Linked DNA regions of Homo sapiens: region 1 is linked to region 2. Evidence: promoter capture Hi-C in 16 types of primary human blood cells and fetal thymus (Javierre and others, 2016). All regions are on one chromosome and are shown on one strand. Each heading gives the region's core, a stretch centred on a gene start or on the middle of the fragment in contact. The rest is flanking DNA. Distances are from core to core; before and after follow the strand shown. Region 1 overlaps LINC02288 (long intergenic non-protein coding RNA 2288). Region 2 holds the start of FOS (Fos proto-oncogene, AP-1 transcription factor subunit).

Evidence for each region. The method cuts DNA at HindIII sites, captures the fragments that hold promoters and counts their contacts. A CHiCAGO score of 5 or more calls a contact.
Region 1: a fragment that was not itself captured here is called in contact with the fragment with the promoter of FOS in region 2 in 1 of 17 cell types (M0 macrophages); the score reaches 9.5 in M0 macrophages.

What each region holds. Positions count from the first base shown.
Region 1 is chr14:77,041,511-77,047,723 of GRCh38, forward strand. The region is part of intron 1 of LINC02288 (long intergenic non-protein coding RNA 2288); the gene reads left to right. Among named protein-coding and RNA genes, the nearest start is that of LINC02288, 3.6 kb to the left of the region's middle. RefSeq lists enhancers at 1-3,500, 3,047-3,557. The HindIII fragment of the contact is 1,837 bases long and covers 1,968-3,804 here.
Region 2 is chr14:75,275,350-75,281,414 of GRCh38, forward strand. It overlaps FOS (Fos proto-oncogene, AP-1 transcription factor subunit), which reads left to right and starts at 3,479. Exons shown (of 4, transcript NM_005252.4): 1 at 3,479-3,774; 2 at 4,528-4,779; 3 at 5,211-5,318; 4 at 5,434-6,065. The coding sequence starts at 3,634. RefSeq lists silencers at 1,643-2,152, 2,881-2,970, 3,321-3,380 and enhancers at 3,469-4,396, 3,751-3,810, 4,397-5,322, 5,349-5,908, 5,909-6,065. The HindIII fragment of the contact is 6,704 bases long and covers 1,298-6,065 here.

The sequences.
Region 1 (6,213 bases), core at 1,636-4,135, 1.8 Mb after region 2:
TGGAAACCAAAGAGGTTTAGTGATTTATTTACATTGGGGGTAAAAACGGTGAGCAGTATTCCTTCTCGGCTCGCTACTTCCTGAAGGTTTCCTGAACCTAAACATTCGTTAACATCCCAGGAAGGGAACTTATTTTTCCTGTGGCTTTCAATATTTTCTGCTAAATATATTTCGGCACACTGTTTATCTTGGGCTTCAGCTTTCAGACCTTTATGCACTTTTAACACCTTGAGGCTGTTTCACTGAAAAATGGTGTATGTTAATTAAAGAGGACTTTATGTGCTGGGCATTAAGGCAGGGGGGATTTCTGTTTTGATCTGTCTGTATAATGAGGGGCTTCAGGATGAAACACAAGTCAGAGGCCTGTTAGCTTCGTGAAGCCCTTTTGACAAAGCGGGACCTTGAATGTGGGCCCTTGTATTCAAACACTTGAAGACCACAGAATGTTGAACTGAACGAAACATTTCTTCCTAAGTGCATGGTGAACATGGAGGCCAGGAGACGAGAAAGACTGAAAATGCCCCAAGTTCCTGGGGCTTAGCTGCAATTTCTTTGAACTTGACTGTCTCTGGGTGTCTGCTCGTGATTGTCACGGCAGCTCTGGCCAAGGCGATGCACTCTGTCTCGCTGGAATTTCCTGATTCCAAAGTAGCCCCTTCCAAATAAATAATCAACAAACGCCATCTGCTTCACCTTGCCAGCAGGCACAGAGCTGAAGGGTTAGCTAAAACCTACAATTTTTAGGAGCAGTAGGCTCTTGAGACATTTCAAGATAGGTTTCGACTTGGAATTAAACTAGAGTTAGAGGCAGAAATCAGGTGATTCAGAAAGCAACCCCCCCTCCCTCCCGCCAACTTCCCCAGACAGTCCAGGCAGCTGGGTTTTTGGCTCTCACAGCTGCTAAGCTTTGGCAAGCCAAAAGCATATTTCGTGGTGGTGATTCCTTTCCCAGGTTGACGGACATGTTTCTGTACTGAGCACAAGGCATGTTTCCTGACCGTGTGTGAATCAGAGGCTGCATTTTTATCCAGGGCTTCTGGTGACAGTTTTAAGCTGGATGAACAAAGCAGACCCTGACATGTCCCTGTCATCAAGGTCAAGAGATACAGAATCTATCCTAAATGTTCGCCACCTCTAGCCCAGATGTATTATATTTATTTATTTTTGTTTTGTTTTGTTTTTTGAGGCGGTGTCTTCCTCTGTCGCCCAGGCTGGAGTGCAGTGGGGCAGTCTCAGCTCACTGCAACCTCCGCCTCCCGGGTTCAAGCAATTCTCTTGCCTCAGCCTCCCGAGTAGCTGGGATTACAGGCACGTGCTATCATGCCTGGCTACTTTTTTTGTATTTTTAGTAGAGACAGGGTTTTGCCATGTTGGCCGGGCTGGTCTCGAACTCCTGACCTCAGGCGATCTGCCCTCCTCAGCTTCCCAAAGTTTCTGGGATTACAGGCATGAGCCACCACACCCGGCTATTTTTTTTTTAATCATGCCAAGAGCAGCCACCACCCCACAAGTCAATGGATGCCCATGTTCATGTGTCAGATGTTACCCTTCTCTCTCTCAGTGTTTTTGTAGTGTTTGCTTCTTTGTTGGCTTTGGTGAGAAGATTTACAAAAGCCATTTTGGACCCTTGAGTGCCTTTCCAGATCGAGGCAAGCTCCAAGATTCCAAACAGCCTTGACCTCGTCTGTGTCGCCCCATTATAGCAGGGATGATAACCGGAGGGGAGTCCTTGGTGTAGCCCCTCCATACCAGGGCCCGGAGAGCCAGCTTCCCAGAAATCCATGGATTAGGAAACTCTGTCGTGGGCCAGTTCAGGAGCGGCAGGGGGAACAACTCCCTTTTGTTTTGTTGTCTAGCATGTGACCAGAATGCTGCCAGCTAATTTTAACCCCACCAAAGTACTGCTGGGAAAAAAAAAAAAAAAACTATCTTGCATCTGGAGAGAGAAATGCTGTGGGCTGGATAAAAGCTTTTCAGCCTGTGTTCCTTCCTGTTTCAGTTTCCAAACTTGCATTATCGGTAACCTGAAAAATGATGAGTTTCACCAAATTCCTGGATGTTGTGCAAGAGGACAATGAGTCTATTTTGGGTGGTGTGAGTGTGTCTGGCATAGACACTGGGAACCATTGTTTTCAGGAGGGAGAATGTTTTGGGGTTTCCTGGTGCTTTCCTTATAGGGTCTCAAAGCCCCAAGGGGTACTGCTGGGGGGAGAAACCCTCCATGGCAACCATGGAGGCTGTGCTCTGCAAAAGACCTGGCTGAGAATTGGGTGGTTAGGCCAGTGGGTGGGGGTGAGGGGTGACGTGGCAGTGGTGGCTCCAGAGGTGTTAAAAGGTGCTCTGTAGGGAGTGTTTGAGGTAGAACGACTGGAGCAGGAAGAAGTGGGGAGAGAGAGATGCTTTCACTGTGGCTGGGCGGCCCCCTGGGACACAGGGCACCTCTTCTACTAATTCTCCATATCTGCTTTTAGCACCATGCGTGAATGGAGGATTATATGGAGTTCCCCACCCTGGATACTGGATTCTCAAAGCATACCTGTGGTGGTTCATTGTTGCTGTCTGGCTGGATGGCAGTTGTTGCTAGTGGAAAAGTCCAGAATCGCAAGACCCAGGAAATGAAATGGTTTGGGTGAGACAGCGTGTAGCTAGGCAGGTGCCGCTGACTGTTCTAGAACTAGATAGTAAGGTGGACTGCCGTTAACCTGAGTGTCCACAACGCAGTCTCGGAAGATAAGGTCAACACTGCAGCACTTGCTGCAACCTCAACCAGGAGAGCTTGGTGGCAGTTGTTCTGACAGCTGCAGAGGGCCTCAGCTGCCTAAAAAGCCATTTGCTCAGCCCTGCCCTGTCTGGCCAACTTCTGTGTATTTCAAGGATCCTCATGGGTCTCTGTGGCCCCCCTCTTTTCTGAGTCCTCAGGCAGACACCATCTTCGGAAGGGCAGGGAACCCCATGTTCTGCTTCTAACTGGCTGCTATAACCTGCCAGCAGTAGTCAAGATCAGTTGGCAAATCCCTAAATTAAGGTTCTGTTTATTTTGTTGTTTCAAAGGCTTGTTTTGAGCAAGATGTTGTGCTTTAATTAAAAAGATGAGAGATCATGAGTAAGTGAAAATATTTTTGAATCTTCACAAATAGGTTTGAATTTCATTTCTTGCGATTCACAGTAGGGGGTCAAGCTGATCAGCACTTTTATCTGTGAGACCATCTAGAAGGTCTTCTGTAAGTTAACAGCTGACTCTTCTGCACAATAGAATTGTAAAGGGAATCCTCTGTCAAGCATTTGTTCCTTGCTGCTTCTCTGTTTACAGATTTTAGCCAGCCTTCAGCTGTCATTAGGGCATATTCCTCATTTACCTTTCTAGCCAGAGGATTCCTAAATGTTTCATAATAGCTCCACAGCTGGAATGCAGCTGCTTGGGGTGGAGCAAACATAACTCCCTATAGGTCAGCGGGTGAGGGAGGGCAGGGAATCTTGGAAGGTTGGGAAAGTCCTTCTAAAGCCAGAGCTCAGGAATGAGTGGGGCCACTGGTGTGAAGACTTTCCAGATGGGGGAAGGAAGGGTTCATTTTCTGCCCTCTGGGTAGATTCCAAAAAATCGCTTTGGGGAGGCCAACTATTTTGAAATTGCCTTTAAAGAAGACAACACAAATGTTTAAACTGACCTGGAAAAGCCTTTCTTTTTCCTTTCCCTACAATCCTAGTCTGTTCCCTTGCACATTAATCAACAGAATTGTGTGCCCACGATTCTCCCCTCCCTCACCTCTTTTATTATTATTATCTTTGGTTCAGGAAACTTTTGGAAGCTTTCCCAGGCTGGAGCTATAGAATGATTCCAGGAAAATGCATAGGAGTTTCTGAGTTTTCTCTGGAGGGAGCTGAACATGTTTTTCAGAGAGACGAAGCTAGGGGCAACCAGGTCTTGTGCAAGAATGCAGCCACAAAAGAGGGCAGACAGTGCTAAAAAGATCTGTGGACATCCAAAAGTTCTGAAAGCAAGGTGTGGCTTAGTGAGCCTGCCTGTTCCCCACCCCTTCAGTGTTTTATTATGGCAGCTGCCATGATGTCAGTCCGTGAGCCCAAGCACCCCATCTCAGGGAGATATGCTGAGAACAGCTGGGTGCTGGGGTTTGGACTCTCAAGTTAGCAGCACTTGTAGTTTCTGCCAAAAGAACACTCCAAGATATAGATGGAAAAGTGCAGGGAGTCAATACTTACCCAGCAGGCAGGGGCCCCACCCAGACATGGAATGCAATGGACAAAAAAGTGTCCTTGGGCTATTGCTGCCAAGGGTGGTGCCAGCCTTCAGCCTGTGCCAGCGCAGATGCTTTTGAGCCCAGAAAACACACACAGAACTGCATGCACGCATATATCAGAAACATCTGTCTATACACAAAACCAGAAAGCTACTGGGGAGGTGTGCATAGATGAGGTACAAGAGCAAGGGGGACCTGCAGGACCCATCACTGATAGATGTGGCTTTTTTTTTTTTTTTTGAAACAGGGTGTTGCTCTGTCGCCCAAGCTGGAGTGCAGTGGCATGATCTGGCTCACTGCAATCTCCACCTCCTGGGCTTAAGTGATACTCCTGTTTCAGCCTCCCGAGTAGTTGGGATTACAGGCGCACGCCACCATGCCTGGCTAATTTTTGTATTTTTAGTAAAGATGGGGTTTCACCATTGGGCCAGGCTGGTCTCAAACTTCTGACCTCAGGTGATCTGCTCACCTTGGTCTCCCAAAGTACTGGGATTACAGGCGTGAGCCATTGCACCTGGCCAGATGTGACTCTTGAAAGCAAAGGCAGCTTATATTTCCTGGAAATACACTTCATTCAGGTTGGTTCACGGGCAAAGGAGACAGAAGTTGCTCCTTAAGGAGAATGCCCTGGGCGAGGGCAGAGCTGCCAGCCACTCTGCAATGGTAGGGCTGCTGCACCCACTGTGGCCAGGAGAACCTCAGGAGAGGTGAAACAATCAGAGGGTTGTGGTGATAGAAACTAGAGGACACAGCTCCCAGCTCTCCTCGCCCCGTTAGTTTGAAGACTGTTACCAGCAGCACTGTCGTGGTTCTGGCAGTAAAATCTCCTTCCTTTCTACCCAGGGACATACCGACTCCGGAAAGCATCTTTCCTACAGCAGGTTGGGAAGGTGCTTAACAGCCCAGACTTTAGGATATTAATAGCAATGATGATAGGCAAGGCTGACATTTATTGGGCACCTCTTATGTGTTGGACATTGTGCTGGCTGTTTCAATGCATTATCTCTTCTAATCCACACTTAATGAAGTGGATTCAGTTATCGTCCCCATTTTATAGATGAAGCAACTGAAACTCAGAAAGGTTAAATAACGTTATCTTAGGACACACAGCTAGTAAGTGTTGGCTGAAGTTTGAACTCAGGGTTGCCTGACTCTAGAGGCCTTATCAGACAGATCTGGGTTTGATTCTTGACTCATGAGACTTTGTGACCTGTGCCAAGTTTCTGCACCTCCAGGCTTCCTCATCTGTTTTCATTGTTAGACACATCAAATATTGGCAATTTCATGTAATTTAGCCTAAACCTGCCTTACAACATTGCTTTAAGGCAGGGTGTGGTGGCTCACGCCTGTAATCCTAGCACTTTGGGAGGCTAAGGAGGGTGGATCACGAGGTCAGGAGTTTGAGACCAGCCTGACCAACACGGTGAAACCCCGTCTCTACTAAAAATACAAAAATTAGCTGGGCGTGGTGGTGCGCACCTGTAATTTCAGCCTCTCAGGAGGCTGAAGCAGGAGAATCGCTTGAACCCAGGTGACAGAGGTTGCAGTGAGCCGAGATCGCACCACTGCACTCCAGCCTGGGCGACCGAGCGAGACTCCATCTCAAAAAAATAAAAAATAAAAATAAATAAATAAAAATTTTCCAGGCGCCTTACAGGATCAAGACAAACTCCTTAGCTTGGAACACAAGGCCTCTGGGAAATTGCCTCCAATTCCTCTTTTTGCCTCTTCCTTTTTCTTAATTTCTAACCACATTGAATTCCTCTTGTTCCTTAAACACAATATGAACTTTGAAGCCCCGTGCCTTTACGGGGCTCTTTTCTCTACCTACAAAGAATGTTTTCTCCCTCTTGTTTTTTGAGCAAACTTCTATGCATCCTTCAAAACCCAGCTCAGTTTTTACCTTTCCTGTGAAAATAGTCTCTGGCATTTCCCAGCTCTGTGCTTCAATTGCAAT
Region 2 (6,065 bases), core at 2,229-4,728:
AGCATGAAATCCCTGCCCTGTTGGAAGGCAGCGCCGTGCTCACGGAGGCACACAAGCACCTGTCTCAAAGTCACCCTGACCTGCAGATCTGCAAATGGCAAAAATAATTTCACATGTTTGTTCTGATTTGTCTTCATTTTTAGGCTACCTTGTGTGAGCTCCACTTTTTAGAATGTGATTTTGCAGTCCTGAAATGGATACCATGAGCAGATTGAGATGTGAGAATATGTTAGAATGATCACAGGTTCGGATGTTAGTGGGGCAGGAGAGGGAGTCTGAGATTGTATTGGCCTATACTGTGGCTTCTGGTTGAGCACTTGGTTTGCCTGGATGATGCTCTGGCCTTACTCAATCTTTATCATTCCATTATCCAGAGGACAGAGGATCTGAGCCCCATCTCTGTATTGCAGTCACCTCCTCTGGGACCTGTTTCCAAGCCTTCTTCTGTGTTGCCTGGCACCCCTTTCTTACCTCTTTCAAACCACTTACTGCTACCCTGTAAGCTCGATTGACTTGTTGGTCTTCCTATGAGACTGGAATCTCTCTGAGGGTCGGGACAGGCCTACCCTCTTCATTACAGTGAGCACCAGCCTCCAGCCCAGTCAATAGTTTTGTTAAATAAATAATTGAACAAAATTATTTGTTAAATAATGGTTTGTCCTTTCCAGAGGATGGACTTAGTTTGTCCTTTCCAGAGGATGGATTTAGTAAGTCTCCAACTCTGGTCATAATGGTGCCAGAAGGAAAGAGTTAAGCTATCTGGAGGAAATAGGCTCACTCAAAGACCCTTCTTCTTTTTTTTTTTTTTAATTGGCAAAGGCAGGATAAGTGTATTTGAGATAAATCCTGGATATAAAATCTTGACACATCTTTTAGGTATTGGCCGAGATGCTTTGGACCTGAAAGGGAAGTAAATCAAATCATTCTAGGTTTTCTTTTCTTTTCTTTTGGAGACAGAATCTTGCTCTGTTGCCCAGGCTGGAGTGCGGTGGCACGATCTCGGCTCACAGGAACCTCTGCCTCCCGGGTTCAAGCAATTCTCCTGCCTCAGCCTCCTGAGTAGCTGGGACTACAGGCGTGCGCCACCACACCCGGCTGTTTTGTATTTTTAGCAGGGACAGAGTTTCACCATGATGGCCAAGCTGGTCTCGAACTCCTGGCCTCAAGTGATCCACCCGCCTCGGGCTCCCAAAGTGCAGGAATTACAGGAGTGAGCCACCGCACCCAGTCAGGTTTCCTGTTAAGTGGCCTGAGATCTAGTTGTGAATGGCAGTCATGGCCAGACTCAGGAATTCAAAGCTTGACCTATTTTGTCTGAAGCTAATATTAATAATAAGAGAGATGTATTTGGCTTCATAACCCCTTTCCCTCCCGTCCCCCTCTTTCTTTCTGTAATCAAGGATAGAATTAGAAGTACCGAAGGCCGCAGAATTGCTTTAGGATTCAGAGCAGCTCCAAGGAATCTGTGTTTACGTATTATGTGTGTTTTTCCGTTTCCCTCCCTTTTTATGAGTGAGAAAAAAAAGCGCCTAAATTCCCACCAACATAAACCAATGACATACAATGATGAAATTCTGTTTTCACCTCTGCCTGTGACAGGGAATGCAAAAATAGCAAGTGGCCCAGTTCCACGAATCCCCGCCTCCTGCCCTCCCCGCTCCTGCCGGGTTGGATCTCTAAGAATGGAGGTTAGCGCACAGCCTCGCGCGGGCCGCTCAGCCCCCGGACCCGGCGGATGATGTCAGGCGACGGGAGCGGCCGCGGCCGGGCCGGGGAGGCCGCGGCCCAGGGGAGCTGGGAGGGAGGGTGGCCTCGCCAGGCCGACGGCGCGCCCGGCCGCGCGGCGTTGCCTGGAGACGGCCCTGGCGGCGCTGTGTTGCTGTAAACAGCCGCTTCCCTGTTACTATCTATAGCAGGATCTCCTGGCTCCCGGGCGCGGCGGCTGGAGGCAGGTCTGCGGTCCGGCTCCCCGCGCGCCCCGAACTATCCGCCCGCCGGCCTCATCCTGCCTCGCCCCTCTCCAGGTGCCCACCGCGGGCCCCGACCCCCGGGCCCGAAGAGTGGAGAAGGGAAGACCGGGGCTGTGCGGGGACATGCGTCTTCGCGCCCTGGAGGTGGCCAGCGCGCTGGGGCTGAGCCCCGGCAGCGTGACCCCGGCTGTCCTACGCAGCAGGGCAGGAGATTGGGGGGCGTGGCACACTCTGGAGCACCTTGCCTCCCCAAAGCCCCGTGTTCCAGGACGTGGAGCCGCTCCTGGGGTCCCAGCAGTCGAGGTATTCCGCCCAGGCGCAGCTGGACACTGTCCTTCCAGCCCCCGTCCTCCACCCTCCAAGTCCGCGCTGGAAAATCACCCGCTGCGGGCTCCCGTAAGCACAGCTTCCTGGCGGGACCGAACCAGCCCTCAGCGCAGATTTGAGTTCCCCGCAGGAAGCACACCCCGCCTTGTCATCCCGAACTGACCACCCTGCCCACATAACCACACCTCGCACTCCCTACCCCTGGGGCCCAGCTCAGAACCGGGCAGACACCCCCTTCAAATGTCTTCGCACGTAGGTTTTGCACAGTGTTTATCTGCTGGTGTCTCAGGGATTTGACAGTTTCCTTAATATTCCCACACATGGCCGAGAAAAATAAATAAATAAATGCGCTGTCTTCTTTAAAAAAATAAATAAATAAAGTACCCAGTATCGTAAAGTAGGTTATCGTATTCTCTTATTTTGGATCCTCCACTTTCTGCTTCCAAACGCAGGAACAGTGCTAGTATTGCTCGAGCCCGAGGGCTGGAGGTTAGGGGATGAAGGTCTGCTTCCACGCTTTGCACTGAATTAGGGCTAGAATTGGGGATGGGGGTAGGGGCGCATTCCTTCGGGAGCCGAGGCTTAAGTCCTCGGGGTCCTGTACTCGATGCCGTTTCTCCTATCTCTGAGCCTCAGAACTGTCTTCAGTTTCCGTACAAGGGTAAAAAGGCGCTCTCTGCCCCATCCCCCCCGACCTCGGGAACAAGGGTCCGCATTGAACCAGGTGCGAATGTTCTCTCTCATTCTGCGCCGTTCCCGCCTCCCCTCCCCCAGCCGCGGCCCCCGCCTCCCCCCGCACTGCACCCTCGGTGTTGGCTGCAGCCCGCGAGCAGTTCCCGTCAATCCCTCCCCCCTTACACAGGATGTCCATATTAGGACATCTGCGTCAGCAGGTTTCCACGGCCTTTCCCTGTAGCCCTGGGGGGAGCCATCCCCGAAACCCCTCATCTTGGGGGGCCCACGAGACCTCTGAGACAGGAACTGCGAAATGCTCACGAGATTAGGACACGCGCCAAGGCGGGGGCAGGGAGCTGCGAGCGCTGGGGACGCAGCCGGGCGGCCGCAGAAGCGCCCAGGCCCGCGCGCCACCCCTCTGGCGCCACCGTGGTTGAGCCCGTGACGTTTACACTCATTCATAAAACGCTTGTTATAAAAGCAGTGGCTGCGGCGCCTCGTACTCCAACCGCATCTGCAGCGAGCATCTGAGAAGCCAAGACTGAGCCGGCGGCCGCGGCGCAGCGAACGAGCAGTGACCGTGCTCCTACCCAGCTCTGCTCCACAGCGCCCACCTGTCTCCGCCCCTCGGCCCCTCGCCCGGCTTTGCCTAACCGCCACGATGATGTTCTCGGGCTTCAACGCAGACTACGAGGCGTCATCCTCCCGCTGCAGCAGCGCGTCCCCGGCCGGGGATAGCCTCTCTTACTACCACTCACCCGCAGACTCCTTCTCCAGCATGGGCTCGCCTGTCAACGCGCAGGTAAGGCTGGCTTCCCGTCGCCGCGGGGCCGGGGGCTTGGGGTCGCGGAGGAGGAGACACCGGGCGGGACGCTCCAGTAGATGAGTAGGGGGCTCCCTTGTGCCTGGAGGGAGGCTGCCGTGGCCGGAGCGGTGCCGGCTCGGGGGCTCGGGACTTGCTCTGAGCGCACGCACGCTTGCCATAGTAAGAATTGGTTCCCCCTTCGGGAGGCAGGTTCGTTCTGAGCAACCTCTGGTCTGCACTCCAGGACGGATCTCTGACATTAGCTGGAGCAGACGTGTCCCAAGCACAAACTCGCTAACTAGAGCCTGGCTTCTCCGGGGAGGTGGCAGAAAGCGGCAATCCCCCCTCCCCCGGCAGCCTGGAGCACGGAGGAGGGATGAGGGAGGAGGGTGCAGCGGGCGGGTGTGTAAGGCAGTTTCATTGATAAAAAGCGAGTTCATTCTGGAGACTCCGGAGCGGCGCCTGCGTCAGCGCAGACGTCAGGGATATTTATAACAAACCCCCTTTCAAGCAAGTGATGCTGAAGGGATAACGGGAACGCAGCGGCAGGATGGAAGAGACAGGCACTGCGCTGCGGAATGCCTGGGAGGAAAAGGGGGAGACCTTTCATCCAGGATGAGGGACATTTAAGATGAAATGTCCGTGGCAGGATCGTTTCTCTTCACTGCTGCATGCGGCACTGGGAACTCGCCCCACCTGTGTCCGGAACCTGCTCGCTCACGTCGGCTTTCCCCTTCTGTTTTGTTCTAGGACTTCTGCACGGACCTGGCCGTCTCCAGTGCCAACTTCATTCCCACGGTCACTGCCATCTCGACCAGTCCGGACCTGCAGTGGCTGGTGCAGCCCGCCCTCGTCTCCTCCGTGGCCCCATCGCAGACCAGAGCCCCTCACCCTTTCGGAGTCCCCGCCCCCTCCGCTGGGGCTTACTCCAGGGCTGGCGTTGTGAAGACCATGACAGGAGGCCGAGCGCAGAGCATTGGCAGGAGGGGCAAGGTGGAACAGGTGAGGAACTCTAGCGTACTCTTCCTGGGAATGTGGGGGCTGGGTGGGAAGCAGCCCCGGAGATGCAGGAGCCCAGTACAGAGGATGAAGCCACTGATGGGGCTGGCTGCACATCCGTAACTGGGAGCCCTGGCTCCAAGCCCATTCCATCCCAACTCAGACTCTGAGTCTCACCCTAAGAAGTACTCTCATAGTTTCTTCCCTAAGTTTCTTACCGCATGCTTTCAGACTGGGCTCTTCTTTGTTCTCTTGCTGAGGATCTTATTTTAAATGCAAGTCACACCTAGTCTGCAACTGCAGGTCAGAAATGGTTTCACAGTGGGGTGCCAGGAAGCAGGGAAGCTGCAGGAGCCAGTTCTACTGGGGTGGGTGAATGGAGGTGATGGCAGACACTTTTACTGAATGTCGGTCTTTTTTTGTGATTATTCTAGTTATCTCCAGAAGAAGAAGAGAAAAGGAGAATCCGAAGGGAAAGGAATAAGATGGCTGCAGCCAAATGCCGCAACCGGAGGAGGGAGCTGACTGATACACTCCAAGCGGTAGGTACTCTGTGGGTTGCTCCTTTTTAAAACTTAAGGGGAAAGTTGGAGATTGAGCATAAGGGCCCTTGAGTAAGACTGTGTCTTATGCTTTCCTTTATCCCTCTGTATACAGGAGACAGACCAACTAGAAGATGAGAAGTCTGCTTTGCAGACCGAGATTGCCAACCTGCTGAAGGAGAAGGAAAAACTAGAGTTCATCCTGGCAGCTCACCGACCTGCCTGCAAGATCCCTGATGACCTGGGCTTCCCAGAAGAGATGTCTGTGGCTTCCCTTGATCTGACTGGGGGCCTGCCAGAGGTTGCCACCCCGGAGTCTGAGGAGGCCTTCACCCTGCCTCTCCTCAATGACCCTGAGCCCAAGCCCTCAGTGGAACCTGTCAAGAGCATCAGCAGCATGGAGCTGAAGACCGAGCCCTTTGATGACTTCCTGTTCCCAGCATCATCCAGGCCCAGTGGCTCTGAGACAGCCCGCTCCGTGCCAGACATGGACCTATCTGGGTCCTTCTATGCAGCAGACTGGGAGCCTCTGCACAGTGGCTCCCTGGGGATGGGGCCCATGGCCACAGAGCTGGAGCCCCTGTGCACTCCGGTGGTCACCTGTACTCCCAGCTGCACTGCTTACACGTCTTCCTTCGTCTTCACCTACCCCGAGGCTGACTCCTTCCCCAGCTGTGCAGCTGCCCACCGCAAGGGCAGCAGCAGCAATGAGCCTTCCTCTGACTCGCTCAGCTCACCCACGCTGCT